Linked DNA regions of Homo sapiens: region 1 is linked to region 2. Evidence: promoter capture Hi-C in 16 types of primary human blood cells and fetal thymus (Javierre and others, 2016). All regions are on one chromosome and are shown on one strand. Each heading gives the region's core, a stretch centred on a gene start or on the middle of the fragment in contact. The rest is flanking DNA. Distances are from core to core; before and after follow the strand shown. Region 1 overlaps ARSK (arylsulfatase family member K). Region 2 holds the start of RGMB-AS1 (RGMB antisense RNA 1).

Evidence for each region. The method cuts DNA at HindIII sites, captures the fragments that hold promoters and counts their contacts. A CHiCAGO score of 5 or more calls a contact.
Region 1: a contact is called between a fragment that was not itself captured here and the fragment with the promoter of RGMB-AS1 in region 2, in 1 of 17 cell types (total B cells). The highest score is 7.0, in total B cells.

The regions. Positions count from the first base shown.
Region 1 is chr5:95,557,527-95,563,590 of GRCh38, forward strand. All of the region lies in intron 1 of ARSK (arylsulfatase family member K), which reads left to right. Among named protein-coding and RNA genes, the nearest start is that of ARSK, 5.5 kb to the left of the region's middle. The HindIII fragment of the contact is 2,864 bases long and covers 2,912-5,775 here.
Region 2 is chr5:98,767,458-98,774,333 of GRCh38, forward strand. RGMB-AS1 (RGMB antisense RNA 1) reads right to left here and starts at 5,627. Exons shown (of 2, transcript NR_033932.1): 1 at 5,165-5,627; 2 at 2,161-3,727. RGMB (repulsive guidance molecule BMP co-receptor b) reads left to right here and starts at 6,206. Exons shown (of 3, transcript NM_001366508.1): 1 at 6,206-6,749. The coding sequence starts at 6,614. RefSeq lists enhancers at 1-451, 452-1,192, 2,904-3,404, 5,783-5,832, 6,568-6,876 and a silencer at 6,053-6,682. The HindIII fragment of the contact is 10,132 bases long and covers 3,490-6,876 here.

The DNA of each region.
Region 1 (6,064 bases), core at 3,094-5,593, 3.2 Mb before region 2:
AAATAATGCTAGTCCTGAGTGCAGCTTACAGTTTCTTTGAAGTTTTTGTTTTAGGTATATTCAACTATATAGTAAAAATGTTGGTCTTTAAACTTAAAATAATTCCTCTCTCTATGATTATACCAGTTTGGTATGCTGTTAGATTCTTGACACTGTGATTTATCATTTCTAAAACTCTGCAGGCTAAGATAGAGCAGTTAAGCTGGATAATAATTGTAGGAAGAAAATAGCAAATTGGTTTTACTTTCAGGATAACAACGCAAGAGCTTTGTAGATCAACTCCCAAGAAAACAAGCAAACCAAATGAAAACTCTTTTTTAAACTATACATAAAAACTATTAAATATTTGAAACACTTAAAGTGTCTGGAAACTGTCCTAAGGTCATACACCAAATGAAGAAACATTTATTCAAGAAAATCTATGAAAACTTGGTAAGAATAGCAAGAAGGGTCTGTGGCAGTGAACTATAGTTTTGACAGAGGTTTCACTCAGGTGGGTGTGGCCAAGAAGATAGGACTACTCCCCCTCGGCTCCCAATCACCAGTTATGGTATCTCACCAAAAGGGACAGGCTGTGAGATTTCTCATCTTCTCCTAATCCAAGTTGGAGAGGTTAAATTCCTAATGAATGCAGCTGAGAAGTTGAGGGCTCCCTTACTTCAGTCAGCCCCCACTTACAGGACAGAGGCTTTATGCCAAGTGCGGAAAGTTGAGAATCCTAGGGCCCTAATTGCCCTGGCCCTAGCTCTCTAGTAGGACAGAGGTTCCATACCAGGAGAGACAAGCTGAGAAGACCAAACAAGCTTCTGCAAAGCAAGCAGAATGGAGGAAATAATAAGGATTAGGGCAGAAATTAAAGAAACAGAGGATGGAAAAATAGTAGAGAAAATCAATGAGACCAAAAATTGGTTCTTAGACAAAATCAGCAAAATTGACAAACCTTAGCTATACTGAACAAGAAAAAAGACAAAAGAGCTAGATGACTAAAATCATGAAAGAGAATGGTTACATTATCTTAAGAAATAAAAGAATTACAAGGGAATACTTACATACAACAACTGTATGTCATCAAATTAGATAAATGAAATGGACAAATTGCTAGGAAGGCAGAAACTACTGAAACTGACTCAAGAAGAAATAGGCAATCTGAATAGACCTATAAGAAGTAAAGAGGGTAAACTGGTAATTTTAAAACTACCAACAAAGAGAAGCACAGACCCAAACGGTTTCACTGATAAATTCTACCAAATACTTAAAGAATAATTAATACTAATTCTTCATCTACTCTTCCAAAAATTAGGAGAGAACACTTCCAAACTATAAGACCAGTTTGGCCGGGCGCGGTGGCTCACACCTGTAATCCCAGCACTTTGGGAGACCGAGGTGGGTGGATCACCTGAGATCAGGAGTTCGAGACCAGCCTGGCCAACATGGCGAAACCCTGTCTCTACTAAAAATACAAAAATTAGCCAGGCGTGGTGGCAGGCACCTGTAATCCCAGCTACTCGGGAGGCTGAGGCAGGGAGAATTGCTTGAACCCAGGAGGCAGAGGTTGCAGTGAGCCGAGACGTGCCATTGCACTCCAGCATGGACAAAAGAGCAAGACTCCATCTCAAAAAACAAAAACAAAAAAACAGTTCATGCCTGATTCCAAAGCCACGAATACATCACAAGGAAAGAAACCCACAGACCAGTATCCCTTAGGAATATAAGAGCAAAGATCCTCAACAAAATGGATTTGGCCCTCCATATTCACAGGTTCTGAATCCGCAGATTCCACCAATCTCAGATAAAAATATATGGTATTTATGGGATGTGGAACTCACAGAACTTGACTTTTCCTATCCATGGGTTCCACAGGGCTGACTGTGGGACTTGAGCCCGCAAAGATTTGGTATCCTTGGGAGGTCCTGGAAACAATCCCCTGCAGATACCAAGGGACAAATGTACTAGGAAACCAAATTCATTAGTATGTAAGAAGGATTATTCACCATTACCAAGTGGAATTTGTCCCCAAAATGTACAGTGAGTTTAATATCTGAAAATCAATTAATGTAATACATCATGTTGACTGAATAAAGGACAAAACCCATGTGATCATCTCAATAGATGCAGAAAAAGCATTTGAGAAGATTTGACAATCCTTATGCATTCAACTGGCTAGAAATAGAAGGGAACTAAAAGGCATCTACAAAAAAAGCCAGAACTTTACACTGAATGGTTAAAAGAAAAAAAAAATCAGTTTTCTGACTAAGATCAGGAAGAAGACAAGGATGTGTGTTCTCACCACTGCTATACAGCATTGTACTGGGGGTTCTAGCCACAGAATTAGAAAAAAGATTAAATAAAAGGCATTCACATTGGAAAGGAAGAAGTAAAAGTATCTATACTTGCAGTAATCTTGTATGTAGGATTCTACGGCTCCACTACAAAACTATTGAACTAATAAATTAGTAAGGCTGTATACCAGATCAGTGTACAAAAATAAATTGTATTTTATATACTTAATTGATTAACACACTTATAGTCAAATTAAGAAAACAGTTCCATTTAAAGTAACATCAGAATGGATGAAATACTTAAAATAAATCTAATCAAGGAAATATAGTTCTTATACTCCGAAAACTACAAAACATTGTTGAAAGAAATAAAAGAACATTTAAATAAATGAACAGACATCCCCTTTTCATGGATCAGAAGATTTAATATTGTTAATATAGCAGTACTCACCAAAATGATCTACAGATTCAATTCAATGCCTGTCAAAATCCCTAGAACCTTTTTTTTTTTCTGCAGAGATGGAAAAACCCATCCTAAAATTCATATGGTAATTCAAGGGACCCAGAATAGCCAAAAATAAATCTTGAAATAAAAAGAACAAAGTTGAAAGACATACACCTCCCAATTTTAAAGCTTATATCTTAACTACACCAATCAATGTAGTATGTTATTGGCTTAAGGATAGGTGACATACAGATCAATGGAATAGGATCTAAAGTCCAGAAATAAACTCTCATATTTATAGTAAATTGATTTTTTAACAAGGGTGCCAAGACCATTTAATAGGGAAAGAATGATCTTTTAAACAAATGGTGCTGGAAAAAAAAAATATGAATGAAGTTGGACCCTGCCTTGCACCATACACAAACACACAAAAAAAAACTTTAAGTAAATTGATTGATTAATCAAATGTAAAACTAAAAAACTCTTACAAGAAAACATAGGTGTAAGTCTTTGTGATTGTGGATTAGGCAATTAAAAGATGGGCAAAAGATCTTTTTTTTTTTTTTTTTTTTGAAATGGAGTCTCGCTCTGTCACCCAGGCCGGAGTGCAGTGGCGCAATCTCGGCTTACTGCAACTTCTGCCTCCCAGGTTCAAGCCATTCTCCTGCCTCAGTCTCCTGAGTAGCTGGGACTACAGGTGCCCGCCACCACACCCAGATAATTTTTTAATTTTTATTTTTAGTAGAGATGGGGTTTCACCGTATTAGCCAGGATGGTCTCGATCTCCTGACCTTGGGATATACCCGCCTAGGCCTCCCAAAGTGCTGGGATTACCGGCATGAACCACCATGCCCGGCCAAAAGATCTTAATAGACATTTCTTCATAGAAGATACGCAGATGACAAATAAATACATGAAAAGATGCTCAACATCATTAATCATTCGGGAAATGTAAATCAAAACCACAGTGAGACACCAGTTATACCCACTGGGATGGTTATAATGAAAAAGACAATAACTAGAGATGGCAACAATGTGGAGGAATTGCAACCCATACCCTGCTGGTAGGATCACGCAGCCATTGGAAATCAGTTTGGCAGTTTCTCGAATGGTTAACCATAGAGTTGCTGTATAATCCAGCAGTTTTACTCCTAGGTGTATATTCAAGGGAAATGAAAATATAAGTCTACACAAAAACTTCTACATGAATGTTCATAGCATTATAATGTTCATTATACATAATGGCCAAACAGTATAAACAACCCAAATGCCCATCAATTGATAAATGGATAAATAAAATTTGGTAATATTATTCAACAATAAAAAATATGGTATATGCTACAATATAGATGAAACTTAAAAAGATTATGCTAAATGAAAGAAGCTAGTCAAAAAGGACCACATATTGTATGATTCCATTCATATGAAATGTCCAGAAAAAGCAAACATAGAGCCGGAAAGTAGGTTAGTGGTTGCCTAGGCTTCAGGAAAATAGAGAGTAATGGCTAAAGAGTGCAGAATGTCTTTTGGGGATGATGAGAACATTCTAAAATCGACTATGGTAATGGTTGCACAGCTTTCTGAATACACTAAAAACCATTGAATTGTACACTTTAAATGGATGAGTTGTTTAGTGTGTTAATTATATCTTAATAAACCCATTTTTAAAAGAACAGAAAACAGGCTAGGCACGGTGGTTCACACCTGTAATACCAGCACTTTGGGAAGCCACGGCGAGCAGATCACCTGAGGTCAGAAGTTCGAGACCAGCCTGGCCAACATGGTGAAACCCCATCTCTACTAAGAATACAAAAATTAGCCAGGCATGGTGGTGGGCACCTGCCCAGCTACTCGGGAGGCTGAGTCAGGAGAATCGCTTAAACCTAGAATACAGAGGTTGCAGTGAACCGAGATTGTGCCACTGGACTCCAGCCTTGGTGACAGGGTGAGTCTCTGTCTCAAAAAAAATAAATAAAAATTTAAAATTAAATAAATAATAGAAAAGAAGCATCTCTGCCTGGGTCTTAAAGGACAGAGGCATCTTCTGCATCCCCACTCCTACTCCTACCTCTACTCCCTGCCACTGCACCTGTATCAGTTTTAGTTTTGCTGAGGTTTCAGGAGTGGCAGGGGAGAGTAGGTACAGGAGTGTTTACTAGAGAGTCTAGTGAGAATCTCATTCAGTCTGATGGACAGATCTGGGAAGAACACTATAAGCAGTCTTGCCATGCTGACATGGCAAATTAAAGTTGCTGTTACATTCTTTTATTAGGATGATTAATTCAAACCTAAACTTCTCTGATTCTGCATGGCCCATAATGATAAGGAACCGAGTACAAGCCATGGTTCAGAAGGAGCAATCAAAATCACAAAATTGTATCTACAAAAAGACTTACCCACCCCAAGGGGGAAAAATGTGTGGACCCATGAGAATTAATTAACAAGAGCAGAATGCAGCAACTAAAGGCAGTTGGTACCATTTCTGTAACTTTTGCAGAAAGCCAATTAATGGGTCATTTTTATTTCTTAAATGCCCAATTTTAGAGTGCTTAATTTGTTTGAACCATAGGAATGGCCTTGAGAAAATTGAAATGGGCTATTAGTAAGTTATAGAAGTTATAACAAAAGCCATTTTTCAAGATTTTCTCTGCCAACTAAATTTGACAGAACTGTGTTTTCACTTATAACTGGCTATCCATTGTAAACCACATTAACATACTATGGAAAACTTACTTTCTCTCTTTTTCATCAGCCAGCTGTGTTAAGATGCCTTTCAGTTCAGAATGAAATATTCTACTGACCGTCTCCCATTGATACCATTATCAGCAGTACTAGTAGTAGCCTAGTTTTTAAATGATTTGTTAGTGTGTAAAAACTACATGAAGTCAAAAACCAAAACTTCTAGAAAATTTTTAAATATTTTCTCTAATAACATTTTGGTCTTCGTTTAGAGTATTATTGATATTTCTGATATTGAGAATATGTATATCATAATTTAAATATTTCCTAGGAACCAAATTTTGCAATTGATATGCTTAATCCAGTTTATTAAGCTTTGCAAAAATACACTGTTGAATTTTGAGCATAAATTTGTCTTCTTTTTTAAATTGAACAAATCTCTGGATTAGAGATTCATTTCATTTCATTCACTGAATATTTGCATACCGCTCACTGCCTTATATATATCTCAGACAGCAATCTTAACATAGATCACCTTTCACTGATGGAATCGTTGGGAACTTTCCCACATGACGGCAGTCGCCCCCTCCCTTTCTGGTTATCTCTGCCACTATATTTCAAAGAGTCCTGCTTTCCAGCCTGCTTTTGATACAGATAATGT
Region 2 (6,876 bases), core at 4,377-6,876:
GTGGGTGGTGAATTGAAAATCATGAAAAATATTATGAAACTAAAGAAAAATTAAACGTATGATCTGATGAATGTATTTATGTGATGATTGACAAGTTAGCCTCTAGGTTCCACTGAGCAATATTTATGGGAAAGGAGTGGAGGAGACAGGGAATTCTGGCAGCTTGTGCCTGCTATTTATGTACCGTTCAGCTTAGCAGGAGAGGGACGAAGAACTGGGGCTGCATTAAAAAACATCCTCTGGGCTGGCTCACTGGGCTTGCTTTGAACTCTTGTTCATCATTATTTTATGCTGCAGCTTGTCTTTGTGTTGGTGGAAGGGAAAAGAAAAACACAAGAGACTAGCCTTTAGTTTCTAAATCAAAGCTGTGCTTTGCTGACTGCTGGAGTGGCTTTTCAAAAGCAAAACAAGTGGGGACATTAAAATTCCTTGCTTTTGTAAACCAGGAGCTGAGTTGGGGTTTTTTTTTTCTTCTTTTTAAATTCTCAGATGCAAAAGGGTATGTTTCAATGTGTCTTACATTTACCTTGAAACAATCTCAGTATGTTTTTTTCCATTTGACTGGCACTTGGAGAAGATAAAGCAAGGTGAAAAAAATACTAAGGAGGAACCTGCAGAGGTTTGGAGGAAGGGCGTTCATTGTCATCGAATTTAAGAAAGAGAAGGATATGTAAATTTTACTAATTAATGCCTCTTACACATCCTTTCTTGATAGTGACCCCAAGGTCCAAAGACGTTAAATCAGTTGCCTAAAGCCCAGACCCAGAAAGTCAGGACTAGACCTTCCTCTGTGGATTCCCACTCGTCCTCTTTACACTGCCCTATGCTGCCTCTAGCGTTAGCCGGAGAAACTGTAAGGAGGGGTTAGGGGAGGAGAAGGCAAAGAAAAGCTGGAGAGGGTCGTAGATTCTTGCCTAAGGAGGCAAGAAGTGACCTCCCTGAGTCAGGATACTTGAGCATTTGACTTGACTAAGAGAAGTAGCCCGCTAGTTCCAGGCGTTGAACGCGCCAATTAGCTGCCGCTGAGTATCTGGGATGTTTTTTGTTTGTTTGTTTTTCTACTTTGGAAGATCAATGTAAGGTAGAAAGTTAATCCCTTTCTTCTTGCCCTCCACGCCTTCCACGCTGATCGAAGCGACCGTCCTCCCTCGAACATTTCGTGGGCTCATTCTTTGTAACACACTTGCTCTGGGCCTTAGGTGTCTCTTTAAACCCTCTCTCCCCTCTTTATTTCCAAATCTTTATCTTTGGCTTTCTTAAGCTGTAAAGGCACACTGGCACCTTAGGTGGTCAGGTAAGATCGCTGGATTCCTTATTTCGGCGAAAGTCCAGCGGACCATTCCCGCCACTGTACCCATTTTAGAAACACTTGGAAGACCCTTAAGGATCATTTACGGAGAGAAAGGTGTGCATTCTGCGGCTGCCGGCGGGCAGCTAGAGAACGTGGCGGGGGGCAGCGCATCTGGCGCCTTGGCCGGGGCGCGGAGTGGGAACAGCCCGCACGCGTCCGCTGCCGCCCTGCCTGGCGACGAGTGGCACAATCGCCCACCAGGAATCGGCTGGTGCCGCGGGTGGGCGAAGGCAGCGCCGCCGGCCCGGAGGGCGGCGCGGAGGGTGGCGCTGGCGGCGTGAAAGGCGTCTTTGTGCAAGATTGAGTGTGGTGGGGGGAAGGCGAAGAGAGAACTGATCCAGGACCTGGACGCGGGGGTCTGCGGCGCCCCTACGCCCCCACGCCCCCAGCCGTCCGCAGTGCCGGAATGAGCCGGATAGCGCCGGCAGGGGGCAGTGTGGCGATATAGGGGTTGCCGGGGGGAGAGGAGGGTCTCTGTTCACCTCTATTTGAGGCTGACTGGGGAGAAAGCTGCCTGGAGGAAGCTGCTGGGGTGCGGGGGGCTGAGGGATTTGGCTCCCCGCCCTCTCCCCTAGATGGCGGAGAAATCGGGCTAGCTGGAAGGGCGCAGCTCCTCTCCCAGAGCTCATTCTGGAGTCGGAGAACTGGGAGAGCGGCCCCCGAGGCGGAGCCTCCCTCCCGCCCCGAGTCGCGCTGCCCCCCACCTGGGGGAGAGGGGCGGGCGCCGCGCTGCCTTCCCTCCGCGCCTCGGCCGCGTGGCTTGCGGCTTATTTTCCCAGCTGGCAAGCGTCGCGCTGCAGACAAGGGAATGCCTGTGGTGAGTTGTTTATTTTGTTGAAGTTTGCGGTGGGCCCGGGGGACGTGGGGGGCGAGCGGCAGGCAGCGGCCGGGACTGTTTTGTTTAGGTCTCCATCCACCTGTGGGGTATAAATCTGCCAGCCTCAAGGCGGCGGGGGACCGGAGTGAGAAAGCTCTGACGCTCCCAAAAGCCCCTTTTCGCAACTTACAGATCTAGGACCACATTTGATTCTCCACGCCTGGAACCGGCTAGATCCTAGTTTACGCTCACCCCGCCCTCCAGCCTCCCATCAACGCTTCCCGCACCCGCTGTGTGCAGGGCTGGCGCTCCGCAGAGCAAACAGCGCCCACGACCCAGGGACAGCTGGCCACCGAAGTCCCTCCCCGGCGCCCTTCCCCGTTCCTTGAGGATAGGGGAGCTGAGGTTTTCATGTGAAGGGCGCCCATGAAATTCGTGGGAACTTGTTCTGGCGTCTTCTGGAGTGGAGTTCTTTCAGGGGTTTCGGGTCTGCCCGGGACTACAAAATGGGATCCTGGGTTGGCTGGAGTTTCCCAGACTAGGCTGGAGAGAGGTCGGCTGTTGGCTCGCGGGAGAGCCCAGAGGAACCCCTTGGGCGATGGCAGTCAAGACCGGCGGCTGCGTTTGCCTGGAAGAAAAGCCTAAATACATTAGCGAGCTGGTAAAGCTTTTAAGGCCTTCTTGGGAGCGAGTGGCTGGCTAATGAGAGGTTAATTTTGTTTCGAAGGGAAGGCTGCACTGGTTTCCTGAGATAAATGGACAGGAAGCGCATTACCTCCGCGCGCTGGCAAGCGGCTCCCAAATGCTTTTTGCACCTGCCGTTTTGAGCGGTGAGAGCAGCGGCGGAGCCCGCAGGGATTGCGGGGGCCCGTTGTCTACGAGCGGGTGATGAGCCCCCCGCAAGCCCCGGGCTCTCTCCCTCCGCGAGTGCATTGCTCACGCCAAGCTTTGGGACTCTTCTCTCACACCCAGGTCCTGCGTGTTCCGAAGTTCAGGGGCCCCCTGATCCCGCTGAGCCCCCTCCAGGAGCGAAAGGGTTAAGAATGATGTAAGTACAGGCACTTGATTTCTCAAGTCGCCCGCTTGGCCCTCTTCCAAGTTGTACTTTCCTTATTTTCTCTCCTTTCCTTTCCTTACTGTTCTAACGCTTTTTAATAAACTTTCACTCTTGCTCTGAAAAAAAAAATGATGTAAGTACAAACCACGAGCTGCTTGACGCTGAGCTGTTGGACTCCGGGCTATTTCAGCCGCTGCTTTGGGTACACAGTGGCCGGGGAGCAGCCGGGGAGCCCTTACTCTAGAAAGGATTGCACAAATCGCAAGCTTAGGTGATCTGTTAAGCAGTCAGAGATTCTCCTGTTAGATTTCTGGAAATGGAGACATATTAACTGGAGAACAGTTAAAAACATCACGTATAGGCTCAGGAAATGAAACTGCATCTTGTTTAGAATCCATTAGTGTTTCTGGCATGTGTTTTAATTCTGTCCACTTGCACGTTCATGCCGTAGTATGCTTTGCTGGATTCTCCGGATGTACTGTTCAGGTCTCCTCCTTCCTTTCTGAAAACAAAGAGAAAGGGAGAAAGAGTACCAGTGGCAAGAAACAGGGTGGATGTGTGAATTACACAAGTCATCAGCCACTTCATGATTTTTTTTCTGATTAAAACATAAAACTTTTATAAGTCACCGATTTTTTTGTTTGTGTTCTAGCTCCCTCCCCGATTTTTCTTTGTACAATATAAAGTCGTTTGTAACTTGCAGCTCACGGGCTTGAGGAGTGGCTGCGGTATAAGCGACTATTCACTACGCTCTTGCTTTCCAAGCCAATTCCTGATCTTGTGAACAGTACGAATTTACCCGCGAGTGTGTCAACTGACCTATGTCTTGAAAATAGGAACCACCTTGCGGTTTACTTGTGAAAATTAGCATTTTCCTCTAGCGGCTGAACACTTATGCAGCAATAAAAAGTGAATTGTTAGGCTTATAAATCTCGAGCTTGTCAAATTTTACAACAGAGGAGCAATAAAGCACCTTATAGAGATGAAGTTTTTCCTCTGAAGAACAGTTCCGTTTAACGACACCAGGATTTGCAATGACTCGAGGACGCCCTCTATTGATAGGAAAATCTAGAGCACCCGTGTACTTATGGAACAGGATATAGGGGGAGGGGAGTAAAAAATCATAGAAAGTCACGAGTGGAAAGACCCAAACCAAACAGAAATTATTGATCCTTAACTATTGAGTATATGCTTTGAAGTATGATCAATAAAGTGAGATGCTGCTTTTATAGGGGTCGAATTAAATCTTGGGTTAAGAGAAAAAAATGTAGTCTTTGTTAGCCAAATACTTTGAAAATCAGTATTATGTTTGATTACTTTTTTAAGATGCTTCTTAGTATGTCATGAACTGTATCTAATTATATGAAGTAATTGCAAGATAGTAAATTTTTGCTCTAATAATACTTAGTCCGCAGCATTATCTAAAAATGTCATATAACTTCCTCCCCAAAAGTCATTTCTCCAGGCAACTGTGAAGCTATTATTAAGCGTATTATGGATATACACAGGCTTGGATTATATTGTGGATAGTGAAAGGTGTGTTTACCCCTTAAGTCATCATAGTATGTAACAAGTAAGTAATGAAAAGTTACAGTAAAAACAGATAGGCATCCTTCATTAGGGACCTAGTGGTTTGGGCAATTCAAAATGTGTCTAATAAGTGAGCTGGTGAGACTGAAGGTTTGCCCCTCAATTATCCTAGTCCATTGATTAGCTCATTTAAACATGTGTGGAATATCAGCATGTCCGTGGTTGATAAGAAATTCCTAATTAGAGATTCTGAGTAACATAGCGGGTACAGTTGCCAACTACGATTTGGATGTTAGTGGATTTTAAATGGCAACCCTGTGCTGTTTGGGGAAAGGCAAAGGCGAGGGCGGTATCAAGTGTCTCTCAGCCTTGAGGTCATTCTTGAGATTAGATACCACTTCACACCTACCGATAACAAATTGGAATCTATCATCAGTCTCATAACTGCTTTTCTGTCTCCACTTGGCAGCCTCTTTCTTTGTAGACAATTGTCTTTTTCCTCACTTTCGGACCCATCCGATCATAAAAGGAGAAAGTGAGCTGCCATTGAATTAATCCGTAGAAATTTGTGGAAAATTTAAATAATCTGTAGAAATTTGTGAAAAAGCCACTGAGCAACAACAAATCGTGGCATAATTACACTGCATAAAAACCCACCACTCTCATTAATTACACTGTAACCGAACGTTGAAGTTTGCCCACTCTTAGACCTCTCCTTGCCGCTTTCAGGAAGGGAAATGTCAAACTAGAACACCTGAGCCTCGCACAGCTGCCAGCGAATTCCGGCGGCAGTTCGCGGGTACCTTCCCAGCCCATCCTATCTGCTCCGGACCGCGGGTGACATTCAGATTTCCAACACCGCCCCGAGCTTGCTTTACCAGACACCCTCAAACGACTCGGAACGCGGTTCCGCAGATGTGATTGGCTGAAAGGGGACCTGCCGCGCGGCGCTCTGTAAAAGCGCCTGCTTCCTCCAAGGAGGTGGAGCTGAAGCTGGCAGGGCCAGGGCAGGGAGGGGTAATTAAATTAAAAAAAAAACTTGGAGGGAAGATGAATCGGATCACATTAATTCAAGGAGAGGTCAAAGGCCGGTACCTTTGTAACGCCGGCGAGAGTAAGACTTGCGGTCGCCCATTTCTGTTGGGCGCGAGGAAACAGTAAATCGCGGAAGGGGGTAGAGGGGGAAGGAAAGGGAGCGCGAGGCAGCATGCGGCGCAGGAGAGAGGACTTGGAGTCGATGGACAGGGAACTCGAATTACACTGAGCGGGCGGGGGAGAGGGCCCTCTGGGTCCTGCGATTGGCAGGCTGAGTCGGGCTGACGTGCGGTCACAACCAATGGGGAGGAAGGGAGGGACACGGCGGGGGATTATGGCGTCGTGGATTGGCGGGCACAGGGCGGGGCGGGACGGCAGTGCGGGACTGAGATTGATCGACCGCGGGGGCTGCCGCGCAGAGATATCCGGGCCGCCGGTGGGTGGTCGCTAGGGCTGGGCCAGCCTCTTGGAGGTCCACGCCCGCCGAGCCCACGCTGGCTGGGGCCGGGGTGCCGGCGCGCTCGGGACTCGTCTCAGCAGTCGCTCACGGTCTTTGTGTCTTCTCTTCCGCCCCTTTCCCTGCCTGCCGCCTCCGGCCGCCACGATGCCCCTGCGCCCCGCTGCTGCCGCCGCGGACTGGCTGCGCCGGCTGCGCGCTGCTTGCTGCGGCGGTGGTGGCGCCCCATCTGCTACACGGGCCTGAAGAAGGAAGAAGAGGAAGCGAAGCGCGCCCCCCGGCCCATGCCGCAGCCACGGGCCCAGACCCGCCACGGCGCCCGCGCCGCCGCCCTCGCCGGAGCCCACGAGACCTGCATGGACGGGCATGGGCTTGAGAGCAGCACCTTCCAGCGCCGCCGCTGCCGCCGCCGAGGTTGAGCAGCGCCGCAGCCCCGGGCTCTGCCCCCCGCCGCTGGAGCTGCTGCTGCTGCTGCTGTTCAGCCTCGGGCTGCTCCACGCAGGTAGGACGGGAGCGCGCGAGGGGAGCCAGCCCCGGGGCCTAGGGCTTTGTTCCCAAATAGCCCCAGGTCTCGAAGGCGCTCGCCGGGGCGGAAGGGCGGCGTGGCGCAACGGGAAAGGCCTCCCGAG